Regions from separate parts of the Homo sapiens genome. Here all the other regions are linked to region 3. The links are contacts of gene promoters, found by promoter capture Hi-C in blood cells and fetal thymus (Javierre and others, 2016). All regions are on one chromosome and are shown on one strand. The core of a region is centred on a gene start or on the middle of the fragment in contact, and the rest is flanking DNA. Distances in the headings are between cores, read along the strand shown. Region 1 overlaps RALBP1 (ralA binding protein 1). Region 2 overlaps TWSG1 (twisted gastrulation BMP signaling modulator 1). Region 3 holds the start of MTCL1 (microtubule crosslinking factor 1).

Region 1 (4,564 bases), core at 383-2,882, 790 kb before region 3:
CTGCTCATCCTCACTGCTCACTATAGGCTAACTGTAATGCATTAGCACGCTAAAAGACACTCCCACCAGCATCATGACAGTTTACAAATGCCATGGCAACATCAGGAAGTTACCCTATATGGTCGAAAAAGGGGATGAACCCTCAGTTTCAGGAATTACCCATTCCTTTTCTGGAAAATTCATGAATAATCTAACCGTTCTTTAGCACATAATCAGGAAATAACTATAAGTATATTCAGTCGAGCAGCCCATGCTGCTGCTCTGCCTATGGAGTAGCGATTCATTTCTTTCTTTACTTTCTTAATAAACTAATGCTTTCACTTTAAGGACTCTCCTCAAATTCCTTCTTGGGTGAGGTCTAAAAACCCTATCCTGGGTTCTGATCAGGACATCTTTCCAGTAACACTTCTGATGGGACCAGCTATAAATCATGGTTCCCATGACCCCTGCCTTGGGTTTGATTAATTTCCTAGAGCAGCTCACAGAACCTAGGAATACACTTAGGTTTACACTTATGTTCAGTTTATTATAAAGGATACACAAAGGGTATAGATGAAGAGATGCACAGGGCAAGGCATGTAGGAAGGAGTGCAGAGCTTCCGTGCCCTCTCTGGCTACACTAACCTCCAGGAACTTCTACCTGTTCTGCAATCAAAAAGCTCTCGGAACCCCATCTTCTTAAATTTTTGATGGAGACTTCATTGGATAGGCATGTTGAAGTATGGACAAACATGCAGAAATGCGACTGAACAAAAAGGGTATAATCTAATACTAATAGATTGAGTGGGGAAACCCAGTAAGGCCTGTTTTGTTCAGATTCTTCTTGGCCTCTCTGTGCAGCATTGCTTCCTCCATGGTATGGGACAAGATCCATTTTGAAATGGGGGTCTTATGACCTAAAATCAGACAATGTAAGTCAGAGAATTCCTTTATGGCCAGCTTGTGGACAGAAAGCCGGGGGAAGATTAGAGCATGTTTTTAGTTTCTATGGCCTGCCTTGGGGAGAAAAATGAGCAAGTGAACAAAGACCAGGAGAAGGCCAGAGAGAGAGAGATCTGTCTTCTGAGGCCTACTTCTGAGATCTAAAGTACTCCAACATTATAACAAAAGACTGTCTTTCACCTTTATTGCTCAGAAGCTGTTTCAAAGCTTCTTCAGGAACCAAAGACAAAAGGCAAAATACTTTAACAAAAGATATGCTTATTGTTTAAGTCACTTAAGAAATAACAGGGGCTATGGGAGTTATGAGCCAGGAATTCTGGATGAAAACATATATGGACAGATAGATAAACAGATAGATCTATATATCTCATATCACACAGATCAAGCTGCAAAATCTATAGGATATACAATTTAGTTTCTTTAGTTAATGCTCTGGAAAAAAAAAAGAGAGGGAGGGTGAACATAAAAATTAAGAGTCTTAAGACTGAAAGATTGAAAAGACAAGCCACATTGAAATAAAATACTTATAGAAAATATATCCAATAAAGTACTATTACCCAAAAATATACACAGAACTCTTTAGGCCAGGTGCGGTGGCTCATGCCTGTAATCCCAGCACTTTGGGAGGCCAAGGCAGGCGGATCACCTGAAGTCAGGAGTTCGAGACCAGCCTGGCCAACATGAAAATCCCGTCTCTACTAAAAACACAAAAATTAGCCGAGAATGGTGGCAGGCGCCTGTAATCCCAGCTAATCGGGAGGCTGAGGCAGGAGAATCGCTTGAACCTGGGAGGCAGAGGTTGCAGTGAGCCAAGATAGTGCCATTGCACTCCAGCCTGGGGGAATTTTGTCTCAAAAAAAAAAAAAAAAAAAAAAAACTCTTTAAACTAAACAGTAAGAAAACAATTCATTTTGTTTAAATGGGCAAAAGACCTGAACAGGCACCTCACCAAAGATATGTAAATGGAAAATAAGCACATGAGAAGATGCTCAGCATGCTATATCATTGGAGAACTACCAATTAAAACAATGTGATACTACCACATACCATTATTATGGCAAAACCCAAAATGCTACCACCACCAAATGCTGGCAAGGATATAGAGCAACAGGAACTTTTATCCATGGCTGATAGGAATGCAATATGGCACAGCCACTTTGGAAGAAAGCTTGGCAGTTTCTTACAAAACTAAACATACTCTTCCTATATGATCCATCAATCGCACTCCTTGGTATTTACCCAAATGAATTGAGAACTTATGTACATGCAAAAACCGGCACATAGATGTTTATAGCAGGTATATTATAAATCCCCCCAAAAAAGGCAGCAATGGATAAACTGTGGTATATCCAGATAATGGAATATTATTTAGTGCTAAAAAGAGATGAGCTATCAAGTCATGAAAAGATACAGAGGAAATGTAAATGCATATTACTAAGTAAAAGAAGTTGAGCACAGTGGCTGACAACTGCGATCCCAGCACTTTTGGAGACCAAGGTGGGCGGACTGCTTAAGCACAGCAGTCAGAGAACAGCCTGGGCAACATGGCAAAACCTCATCTCTACCCAAAAAAAAAAAAGAAAAAATTAGCTGGGTGTGGTGGTGCACACCTGTAGTCCCAGCTACTTGGGAGGCTGAGATGGGAGGATCACCTGAGCCTAGCAGGTAGAGGCTCAGCAGTGAGCTGAGATCCCAGCGCTTCACCCCAACCTGCACGACAAAGCAAGACCTTGTCTCAAAAAAAAAGACGTTAATTAAAAAGGCCATATGACATTCTGCAAAAAGCAAAACTATAGAGACAGTAGAAGGATTAGTAGTAGCCAGGGTTTAGGGAGGAGGAAGAAATGAATAGGTGGAACACAGAGGATTGTTGGGGCAGTGAAGCTATTCTGTATTGGTACTTTAGTGGTGGACACATGTTCATTATTCATTTGTCTAAACACACGGAATGTACAGCATACCAGGAGCGAACTCTAACACAAACGCAGCTTTAAAAATAAAGTCTATTTTTGTAAAAGGTTAAGAAACACAAAAATACTACAAAAAAATGACACATTACCTTGAAAAAAAAGAAAGACTTAAAAGACATCAACCAATTGCCATGTATAGAGCTTATTTGGATTTTGATTTGAAAAAATTGTTAGGGGCCGGTCATGGTGGCTCACACCTGTAATCCCACCACTTTGGAAGGCCAAAGCAGGCAGATTACCTGAGGTCAGGAGTTTGAGACCAGCCTGGCCAACATAGCAAAACCTCGTCTCTACTAAAAATACAAAAACTAGCTGGGCATGATGGCGTGCACCTGTAATCCCAGCTACTCAGGAGGCTGAGGCAGGAGAATCGCCTGAGCCCAGGAGGCAGAGGCTGCAGTGAGCCAAGATCGTACCACTGCACTCCAGCCTGGGTGACAGAGACAAACTCTGTCTCAAAAAAGAAAAGAAGTGAAAAAATAGTTAGGAAAAAAAGTTATGAAAATCAGAGAAATCTGAATATTAATTCAATATTTTATATTAAGAAACAATTGTTAATTTTTGTTAGTGTGATCACTGTGTTGTGGTTAGAGATACACACTAAAATATACCTGGATGAAATGATATGACATCTGGGTTAATGTATGGGATGTGGTACCAGAGGACTTGGGGGGACAAAGGGCTCCATTTGGGTCCTACTTAAATTTTTGAAAATATATATATTAATTTTTATAATTTTCTTCAAAAAAATTTCCTAAAAATGAGATTGAGGAAAAAATTACCTTAGATTATTAACTACTGATATAGAATAACAAGTAGGTCTAATATCACCCACGATAGTTAGAGAAAATCCTCAGCTGACAATTCTAAGTAGAAGTTTCCTTAATAGGTGATCTGTAAACATTTAAATGTAGAGAGCTGCTCAAAAGTTATAAAGTGGTCAATTATCTTGGTTGGGTAAGTAAGAACCACCACCCCATGAAGATTTCAGTTAAGGTGTATTGGTTCGTTTTTATGCTGCTGATAAAGACATACCAGAAGTTGGGAACAAAAAAAGGTTTAATTGAACTTATGGCTCCACATGGCTGGGGAAGCCTCAGAGTTATGGCGGGAGGCTAAAGGCTCTTTTTACATGGTAGTGGCAAGAGAAAATGAGGAAGAAGCCAAAGTGGAAATCCCTGATAAACCCATCAGATCTCAAGAGACTTATTCACTATCAGGAGAATAGCATGGGAAAGACTGGCTCCCATGATTCAGTTACCTCCCTCTGGGTCACTCCCAAAACATGGAATTCTGGGAGACACAATTCAACTTGAGATTTGGGTGGGGACACAGCCAAGCCCTATCACAAGGTAACATTTTAGAGGAAAGAAATGGAAAATAGGAATAAAATTACTGTCTAGGATATAAAGGTACTGCGTAAGAATTAACAGCAGCTCACATTTGTAATCCCAGCACTTTGGGAGGCCGGGGTGGGAGGATCACTTGAGGCCAGAAGATGGAGACCAGCCTAGCCAACACGGTGAAACCCCATCTCTACTAAAAATAGAAAAAATTGCTGGGCATGATGGTGCACACCTGTAATTGCAGCAACTCAAGAGGCTGGGGCATGAGAATCACTTGAACCCATGAGGCTGAGGTTGCAGTAAGCC
Region 2 (3,957 bases), core at 1,294-3,793, 640 kb before region 3:
TGTGGGGAGAGAGAATAGGAAATGACTTCTAAAGGGTATGGAGTTCCCTTCTAAAGTAATGAAAATGTTCTGAAATTAGATTGTGGTGATGGTTGCACAAGTCTGTCGATATGCCAAAACCACTCAATTGTACCCTTAAATGGGTAAATTTTATAATATATGAATCATATATCTCAATAAAACTGTTTTTTAAAAAAAATCTAACAGAGAATCCATCTTAGATTTATACTAATAAGAGTTCCAGAAAGAAAAGAGGACACTATACATAATTATATATTATACAAAAATATAGTTATATAAAACGTATATATTATATATGTATGTATGTTAGGACAAGATATATATATATATATATATATATATATATATATATATATATATATATATAACAAAAAACAAAACAGGGCATTTCCTAGTCTTTGGCTCAAAACTGATCCCCAAAAGACTCACAAGATACCAAACAGAATGAATGAAAAGACCAACACTAGACTCAACAGTTTAAATTCCATAATATGAAGGCTAATGAGATGATACTAAAAGTTTCTAGAGAGAATAACAAAGTTACCTATAGAGAATAAGAAACAGACTGGCATCAGACTTCTTATTGGCAATATGGAATGCTATTAGATAATAGAGAAATGTCTCCAAAGTTCTGAGGGAAAAGAATTTAACATAGAATTCTGTATTCAGGCAAACCATCAGTCAGGTGAAAGGTGAGAATAAATACATCTTCAAGACATGCAGGACCCAGAAAGCTTACTTTCCACACAGGCTTTCTTAGGAAGTTACTTGAGGGCATGTTGGGACAAAATAAGGGTTACTGTTAAAAACAACAAGATACGAAATCCAAGAAACACTGGAACCAACTTGGGAAAGTAATGATGGAAAGTCACCATAAGACAGCTTGCATCAGACCTAGATTGCAATCAGTTAAGTCTGGAAACATCAAGACTGAAGGCTCCATTTGGGAGGAAAAATACATTAAGTACTTAAAACAATATAAGGTGCTAATGATTGATGATACAAGGTAAAGAAAGATAATTAGAAACTCAAGAAAAACAAAATCATTCAAGAAGGGAAATGTAATCATAGTACCTATGTGACTACAGTCAACAGTCAACAATATTTATATAATCATTACAATATAAACATGGTTTATTGCCAGTTTTAGAATATACCTGTAAATAAAGCATTAGAAGATTCAAATAGAGTTACAAAACAGAGAAATAAGGTTAGTAATTACCTATAGTGCACTCACGTGCCAGGCATTGCTCTAAATACTTTACACCTAATCCTCACAATACTCGCACAGTATGGTTATTATCCCTGCTTTACAGATGAGGAAATTGAGGCATTGAGAGATTAACTAACTTGCCCAAGGTCATACAACCAGTAAGTGGCAGAACTGGATCCAAATTCAGATAGCCTGGTTCCAGAGTTCATACGCTTAACCATTATACTATGCAGCCTCTCAGAATGTAGATGTTATCAACCTTGACAATATAAAAGTAAAAGTACAGGTAACACTCCGTTCCCCACAGATTTTGATGCAGCCCATCAGAATTCCAAAAGTAGCCCATCAGAATGCCAAAAGTAGAAAATTTCAAGGGCAGTACTCATAAATGCAAGGGAAAAAACTGATTTCTTTGCTTTCTATGATGTTAAACATGGTAGCTTCACATGATCTCCCAAGACTGGAACCCAAACAAACCCTCTCTTCAATTCCCTCAAGAAATGCACTGTTCTTAAAACTCACTTATAGTCTGTCTCATTGCTAAAAAAAAAAAATAATAAAATAAAATAAACTTTAAAAGGAAAGGACTATTAATATTCTCCACTTACATCAGGAATAAAGAGATAGTGTCTCCAGTTGATAGAACAGAATAGAAAACCTTAAATATATTGAAGAAATTGAAAAAATAACCAAGAGATAAACTCAAAACTGTGATACAAGTGTGGCAGGGCAGGAGTGGGAAGGATGACATGATGAGCTATGACCTTATCTGTTATAGCAGAAAGGCAATTTTAGATATATAACATCTAAAACTGATGAATCAAGAAATAGTAGTACAAGCATATTATTTAGGCATATGGCTAAAAATTACTAACAGAAGTAAAAATATAAGAGTTAGATTAAAAGCGGTTTTCCCAGGGTAATAGAATGAGTAGGGAGAATTAGATCAAGAGATTCAATTTTTCACTATGTAGCCTTCTAATAATTTAATAATTTATTACTCTGATGAAAAAAAGAGAACATTTGACACATACTAGTTGGTTTCTTTCTTTAAAACTGCCTAGAACTAGAAGAAAATTTTGAGCTCACCTAGCCAGCCAATTCACTTTACAGTTTATATGTGGCAGAGTGTATTTTCCACAGATGGCCACACCATTATATCCCATCCACATGTTCAGCTTACAACATGACACTGTCACTCCTCCAACAGAGGTGGGGCCTATGTTCCCTCCACTTAAATCCAGGTGGACCTGCAGGAGAGATCATATAGCAGGATCACAGAGACACACACATATATACACAGAGAGAGTGAAAGGGAGAGAGGGAGGGAGATGGGGATAGAGAAGGGAGGAAGGGGAGGAGAAGTCAGGAAGAGACGTATACCTGAAGAATCTTCCCAGCCCAGGTATTAGACTTTATCAGTGAGCCTTCAGATTTTCAATGTCCAATACGTGGCCACTAGTCATATGCAGCTATGCAGCTAATGAAATTGAAATTGAATTAAATTTAAAATCAGATTTTCAGCCATACTAGTCACATTTCAAGTACTTGGTAGCCACGTATGGCTAGATTCTACTGTATTGCACAGGGTAGATGTAGATCTTTTCCATCATCGCAGAAAGCTCTATCTATAGTGCTGTTTCAGATAATTCCACCCCCACCACCTTCAAGCCGCCTTGCTAATGCCACGTGGAACAGAGATGAACTCTTCCGCAGAGCCCTGCTCAGAATGCAAATTCGTGAGCAAAATAAATGCTGTTTCCAGCCACTGGTTTTTGGGGTGGTTTGCCACACAGCCATAGTAAGAGGAACACATGGAAACTAAAGATCAGAATGTGAAATAATCTGCTAGAGTTTGGGAGTCCACAAAACTAGGTGAAGAGTGGAACTAATCACATTTCATTTCAACACTCAATAAATGTTTGTGAATAAACAAACAAGAAAATCCTCAATATTTGAGCCCTAGATCTTTTCTTTTTTTTTTTTTTTTTTTTTTTGAAATGGAGTCTTGCTCTGTCGCCCAGGCTGGAGTGCAGTGGCATGATCTTGGCTCACTGCAAGCTCCGCCTCCTGGGTTCACGCCATTCTCCTGCCTCAGCCTCCCGAGTAGCTGGGACTACAGGCGCCCATCACCACGCCTGGCTAATTTTTCGTATTTTTAGTAGAGACGGGGTTTCACCATGTTAGCCAGGATGGTCTTGATCTCCTGACCTTGTGATCCGCCCGCCTCGGCCTTCTGAAGTGCTGGGATTACAGGCTTGAGCCACCGCGCCCGGCCCAGCCCTAGATCTTTTCTAAATCCAAGTAGTCTACCATCCACCAGGATAGTTGTGTCCACTACTCCAGAAAAAAGTTTGATGTTTCCTGGCTCTGAAGCTACAACGGAATATCAGAAATGTCAGCATCCATGAATTTGTGACTGAAAATACGTCCTAGCTGATTTTGTTTACTAGAATCACCATTTGAGTTAGGTGAAGCTCCATTTGCTTTTCCAGTTTTTTTACACTGATATAGTACTCTTTACATTTTGAAGTATTTTGTTTTTTTACAATTTTTTTTTTTGAGACAGAGTCTTGCTCTGTCGCCCAGGTGGGAGTGCAGTCGCACGATCTCAGCTCACTGCAACCTCCGCCTCCTGGGTTCAAGTGATTCTCCTGCCTCAGCCTCCCAAGTAGCTGGGATTACAAGCATGCACCGCCATGCTCAGCTAATTTTTGTAATTG
Region 3 (4,300 bases), core at 356-2,855:
CCGGGGGCCCTCCAGTGGCATTATCCTGAACCGCCACGCCCGCACGTGGCCCGGCTAGAGCTCCCTGGCGAAGGATCACCTGTTCCTACAGGTGAGGCTGGCACGTTCTGAGCGGGGATGGGGGCGTCCGCTGATGTCCCCAAAACGATTACAGCCTCCTCTGCCCCAACAGGTCAACAAAAGTAAAAGTATCAGCGAAGAGACGCAAGAGTTCTAGACGCGAGAAAAGAGAAGTGGGTTGCGAACTGGCGGGGTCCCACAGGTCTTGCTTCTCCTTCCAGAAGTTTGGGCTTAAGTTGCCAATGCCTGACAATGCGGGGGTAGGACCGTGGAGAGCAGGAGGGAGAAGGCGCTGGACAGGCCCGGGAAGGAGGGGTTGGCGGGTCCCCGCCGCAGCCAGGCCCTCCGGGGGCGCCCCGGGACACCTGCGGCCGAGGCGCGGCTCACCTTGAGATAGTCGTTCTCCGAGCGCAGCTCCTCCATCTCCCGCAGCAGCTCTTCTTCCTCCGCCGCTGGCACGAGCCGAGACTGCTCGCCCAGGCTGGGCTCCTTGGGGGTCCCGGGGACTGGTCGCTCCGGTGGCGAGCGCCCCCGGACATCCTCCGCCACGCCGGGCCCCGCGAAACCCCCCGAAACCCCGCTCGGGATGCTCCGGCCCCCGGGACAGGCGCCCGCGGCGAGGGGCGCGGCGAGGAGCGCTGGGGGCTCGGGGCTGCCCGGCGGCGCTCCTCGGGCTGCGGGGCTCGGCGTCGGCGCTCCTCGTGGGGGTTCACGGTCGCTGGAGCCCGTGCCGGATTCGGCGTCGCTGCTGGCGGCAGGGAGCAGGCGCTGCTCGTCGGACAGGGGTTCGGAGGGGCAGTCAGAGAGGTCGGAGCTGCTGTCCGTGTGGCTGATGCGCGAGCAGCGGGCCGGGGACCCGGCCACCGAGGTCACCGCGAGGGTCACGGCAGGGATCCGGGCGGCCGGGGTCGGGGGGCCGACGGTGCGGGCGGGTGGCGCCCGGGAGCCGCGCTTGGCTTTGCGGCCCTTGGCAGCGGCAGACGGCGGCTCGGCTCCGGGAGGCTTCCCAGCCCGGGACAGCGGCTCCGCGGGCGCCACGCGCGCCGCCCTCCTGCTTCCCAGGGCAGCCTTGGCACCGCCCGCCGCTCTGGCCCCGGCGCCCGGCGGGGGCTTGTCCTTCGCGCCCGGGACGCCGCCACTGCGCCGAGAGAGGCGGCCGGGCGCGGCCAGGGACCCCGGCGAGGGCGGCGCTTTGCCCGCGAGGTTGGGCGAGCGCGGGGCGGCGGGAGCCGGGGCTCGGCCCGAGGAGGGGACGGCCGGGCCGGGCGCGGCGGGCCGGGCGTGCAGGTCCTTGAGGAAGGGTCTGGCGGGCGAGGGCGCACGGTGCAGCCGCCGCCTTTCGGCCACCGGGTGGAGGTGGTGGTGGCGGTGGTGCTGGCCGGGCGGCTGCAGCTTCGCGTCCGGGGCACCTCCGCCCGCGGGGCCGTTCAGTGTCTCCATGGCCGGGTCCGCCGGCAGCAGCTCAGGCAGCAGATGCTCCGGACGACGACGGCGGCGGCGGCGGCGGCGGCGGCGTGCAGCCTCCCCGCGCGCTCTCTCATCACTGTCCCAGCCCCGCCCGGGCTGCGCCCCGCGCTCCCGCCGTCCCCGCCCCCCGCACCCCGGCCCCGAGGATTCCCGCGGGGCTCGCCGCCGCCGCGCTCGCCCCTCGCTGAGGTCACCGCGGATCGAGTTCTCCCGGCTCAGCAGCGCGGCGGCTCCCGGCCGCTCGCATCCCCGGACCTCGCGCTCCGGGCTCGCGGTCACCGGTGCCGCGGCGGCGCTGGCGGCGCGCGCCCGGCTCCCGCGTCCCGCTCCCCGCCCACCGCCGGCCCGCTGCTGCCCGTGCCCGCCCCCGCCGCTCCCGGCTGAGAGAAGCCGCACGCGCGCGCCCCACCTCCCCGCCGCCCAGCGCCCTCGCCCAGGCCCGTGCGCATGCCCCGCCTCCAGCCAGCCGGCGCCGTGCAGGGGAGGGGCGAGGGAAGGGGCGGGGGCTTGCGCTCCCCGGGGGGCGGGCGCCCGGCAGGGGCGGGACCTGCGCGCCCTTGGGAGCAGGCGCAGGCTGGATCCATGGGGCCTCGCTGCCCGGGGACCCTCCTTGCTTTTTGAGGCCCTAGAGACGCTGCCAGGAGCTAGGGAGGAAGGGAAGAGGCGGAGGTGAAGTGGTGGCAAGGGGCGGCGCCGGCCACTTGGGGAAGGCGTGTGCCGCGGCTGACAACACCCCTCTCATGCCTCTCCATCCACCGCCCGCCTCCCCGAGGCCAGTCACCTCCCTCGCTGTCCTCTCCAAGCTGTGCCCCTGGTCCCCGAGCTCCTTTAAGGATCGCTGGTACCCGACGCAGCTCTCGCGTCTAAACGGCACGGCGGGCGCTCCACAGTTGGCACCCCCGTGGCCTCGGGAGCTCAGGAGGAGCTGCTGCCCAAACAGGAGGAGCCCTCGCCAAACCTGGGGGTCAGAAAGGGAACTCACATTTATAGTTCCGGCTGCGAGCCAGGCCTGCTGGCCACTTACTGAGCAGTGTTTTATTTAAGCCTCACCACAGTCCCAGATTGGAATTGCTGTCTTCGGTGAAGACTAGGGCACCGGCGCTGGGAGGTGAAGTCACTTGCCTGCGATGCCTCACCCAGTCCCTAGCTGAGCGGGTTTAAACCCAGGTCTTCAGGATTCCGAGTCCTGCAGGCTTTCCGCTCAGAGCCCGGAGCCCGGCCACCGGTTCTACCACTTGAGTCTCCCATGCGCAAGGCACTAGACCTTTCTGAGCCCCAGTTCCCTCGCCTGTATCATTAAAACGTACTGCCACCTGAGCATGTGTGAAGATTTAGCAAATACCAGAACACACCGTGCAAACTGTAAAGTACAGTTCACATACCATTGGGTGCAGTTTATGTCCCAGGCGTTGGATGTTGGCCAGTGCCCATAGGAATAGGGGCCAGCCTGTCCTCCAGCCCTGGCGTTGCAGGAGGCAGAGGGTCAGGTAATAATTACAAGGAGGAGGGCGGGAGCATAACCCTGCCTGGTGAGGCTCGCATTTTCCTGGAAGGACGGGTTGGTCTCTCAGCTGAGGGCCCAGGACACAGTAGAGCCTGCAGAGAGCAGGGCCCCTGGGCGGGGAGGCAGGTAGGTTAGGGATTAGAGGGGAGACTGGAGGGTGTGTGGCACCAAATATCCTACCAAGGCCGTTGGGCATTATCCTAGAGGCGGTAGCCACGGGGTATTCTGAGCAAGATGATCTGATGTGCTCAAAAAGACCCCGGGGGCAGCAACCTGGAGGAGAGGGAGGTGGGCCACGGGAGCTGCGAGCGGCTGTGGCAGTATGCGCGGTGAGGGGGCCTTGGGAGCAGGGACAGAGAAGAGGGGGCCGACTCGCAAAAATAGGAGGAAAAAATCGACTCCAAAGTCTGTGATCTTAACCACAGATTTACCCTACTTAGCCATCTCCTTCAAAAAATGCAGGATGAACCCTTTTGTTGTAATCCCTACGTCAGGAGAGCCCTGCCCCGAAGTCGTCCTGCCTCGCCCTGGCTGAGCTCTGGGGGCACTGAGACCTCGCCTGCTCTGCTGCTGTTGTGGTCTTTGTGAGTCGTTTTTCTGGGAATGCCTCTGAATGGGAGACAGCACGCACGAAATCCAATCTCTACGAAATCCAATTCCTTAATCTCCTTTGAGGCTAATGCCCTAGCCGTTTCTCCAGCGTTGGGAGAAGGACACTGTTGGCTCCACGGTGGGCGTGGATGACGGCACACCTCGAAAGGCTTGAGAGGTGTTGGCCACCGCTCGCGCCGGGCCTGCTGTCCCCAGAGGGCCCTCTAGCTCTGCCCTTCCGTGGGAGGGGGCCCGCGGTCGGGCCAGAGCACAACTGACCTCTGCCTAGAACTTCCTCCAGAGGCTCTGAAGCCTCCCACACCCTCACATTTCCGAAGAATTATGGCCAGGACTCTCAGCACAAGCTTGCCAGCTTCTCATACCATATACACTCAAAGAAAGGGCCCCCCAAAAAAGTTTCAATACGCTAGTCTTCTAAAGACAGTAGCTTGATGACTATAGGATTTGCAGCCAGCTTCTCTTTCTTTCAGGTAATAAGTCAGATAAAATTCATCCTCCTTACTACTTATTATTAGCCTGGCAAATGAGACTACTAGCCCTTTGTAAGGAAGTATTCAATCAATGCTTTCTCTTTTTTTTTCTTTTTTCTTCCTTTTTTTTTTTAAGAGATGGGGTCTTGCTATGTTGCCCAGACTGAAGTCAAACTTCCTGGGCTTA

Evidence for each region. Contacts are between HindIII fragments. The CHiCAGO score rates a contact against its expected background, and 5 or more counts as called.
Region 1: a contact is called between a fragment that was not itself captured here and the fragment with the promoter of MTCL1 in region 3, in 1 of 17 cell types (activated CD4 T cells). The highest score is 5.8, in activated CD4 T cells.
Region 2: a fragment that was not itself captured here is called in contact with the fragment with the promoter of MTCL1 in region 3 in 2 of 17 cell types (activated CD4 T cells and non-activated CD4 T cells); the score reaches 6.5 in activated CD4 T cells.

Annotation. Positions count from the first base shown.
Region 1 is chr18:9,490,380-9,494,943 of GRCh38, reverse strand. The region is part of intron 1 of RALBP1 (ralA binding protein 1); the gene reads right to left. Among named protein-coding and RNA genes, the nearest start is that of RALBP1, 17 kb to the right of the region's middle. The HindIII fragment of the contact is 961 bases long and covers 1,152-2,112 here.
Region 2 is chr18:9,339,642-9,343,598 of GRCh38, reverse strand. The region is part of intron 2 of TWSG1 (twisted gastrulation BMP signaling modulator 1); the gene reads right to left. Among named protein-coding and RNA genes, the nearest start is that of TWSG1, 6.8 kb to the right of the region's middle. The HindIII fragment of the contact is 3,572 bases long and covers 758-3,957 here.
Region 3 is chr18:8,702,861-8,707,160 of GRCh38, reverse strand. It overlaps MTCL1 (microtubule crosslinking factor 1), which reads right to left and starts at 1,605. Exons shown (of 15, transcript NM_001395333.1): 1 at 448-1,605. The coding sequence starts at 1,500. GACAT2 (gastric cancer associated transcript 2) reads left to right here. Exons shown (of 2, transcript NR_120598.1): 1 at 1-91. RefSeq lists silencers at 1,381-1,440, 1,821-2,260. The HindIII fragment of the contact is 5,801 bases long and covers 1-3,989 here.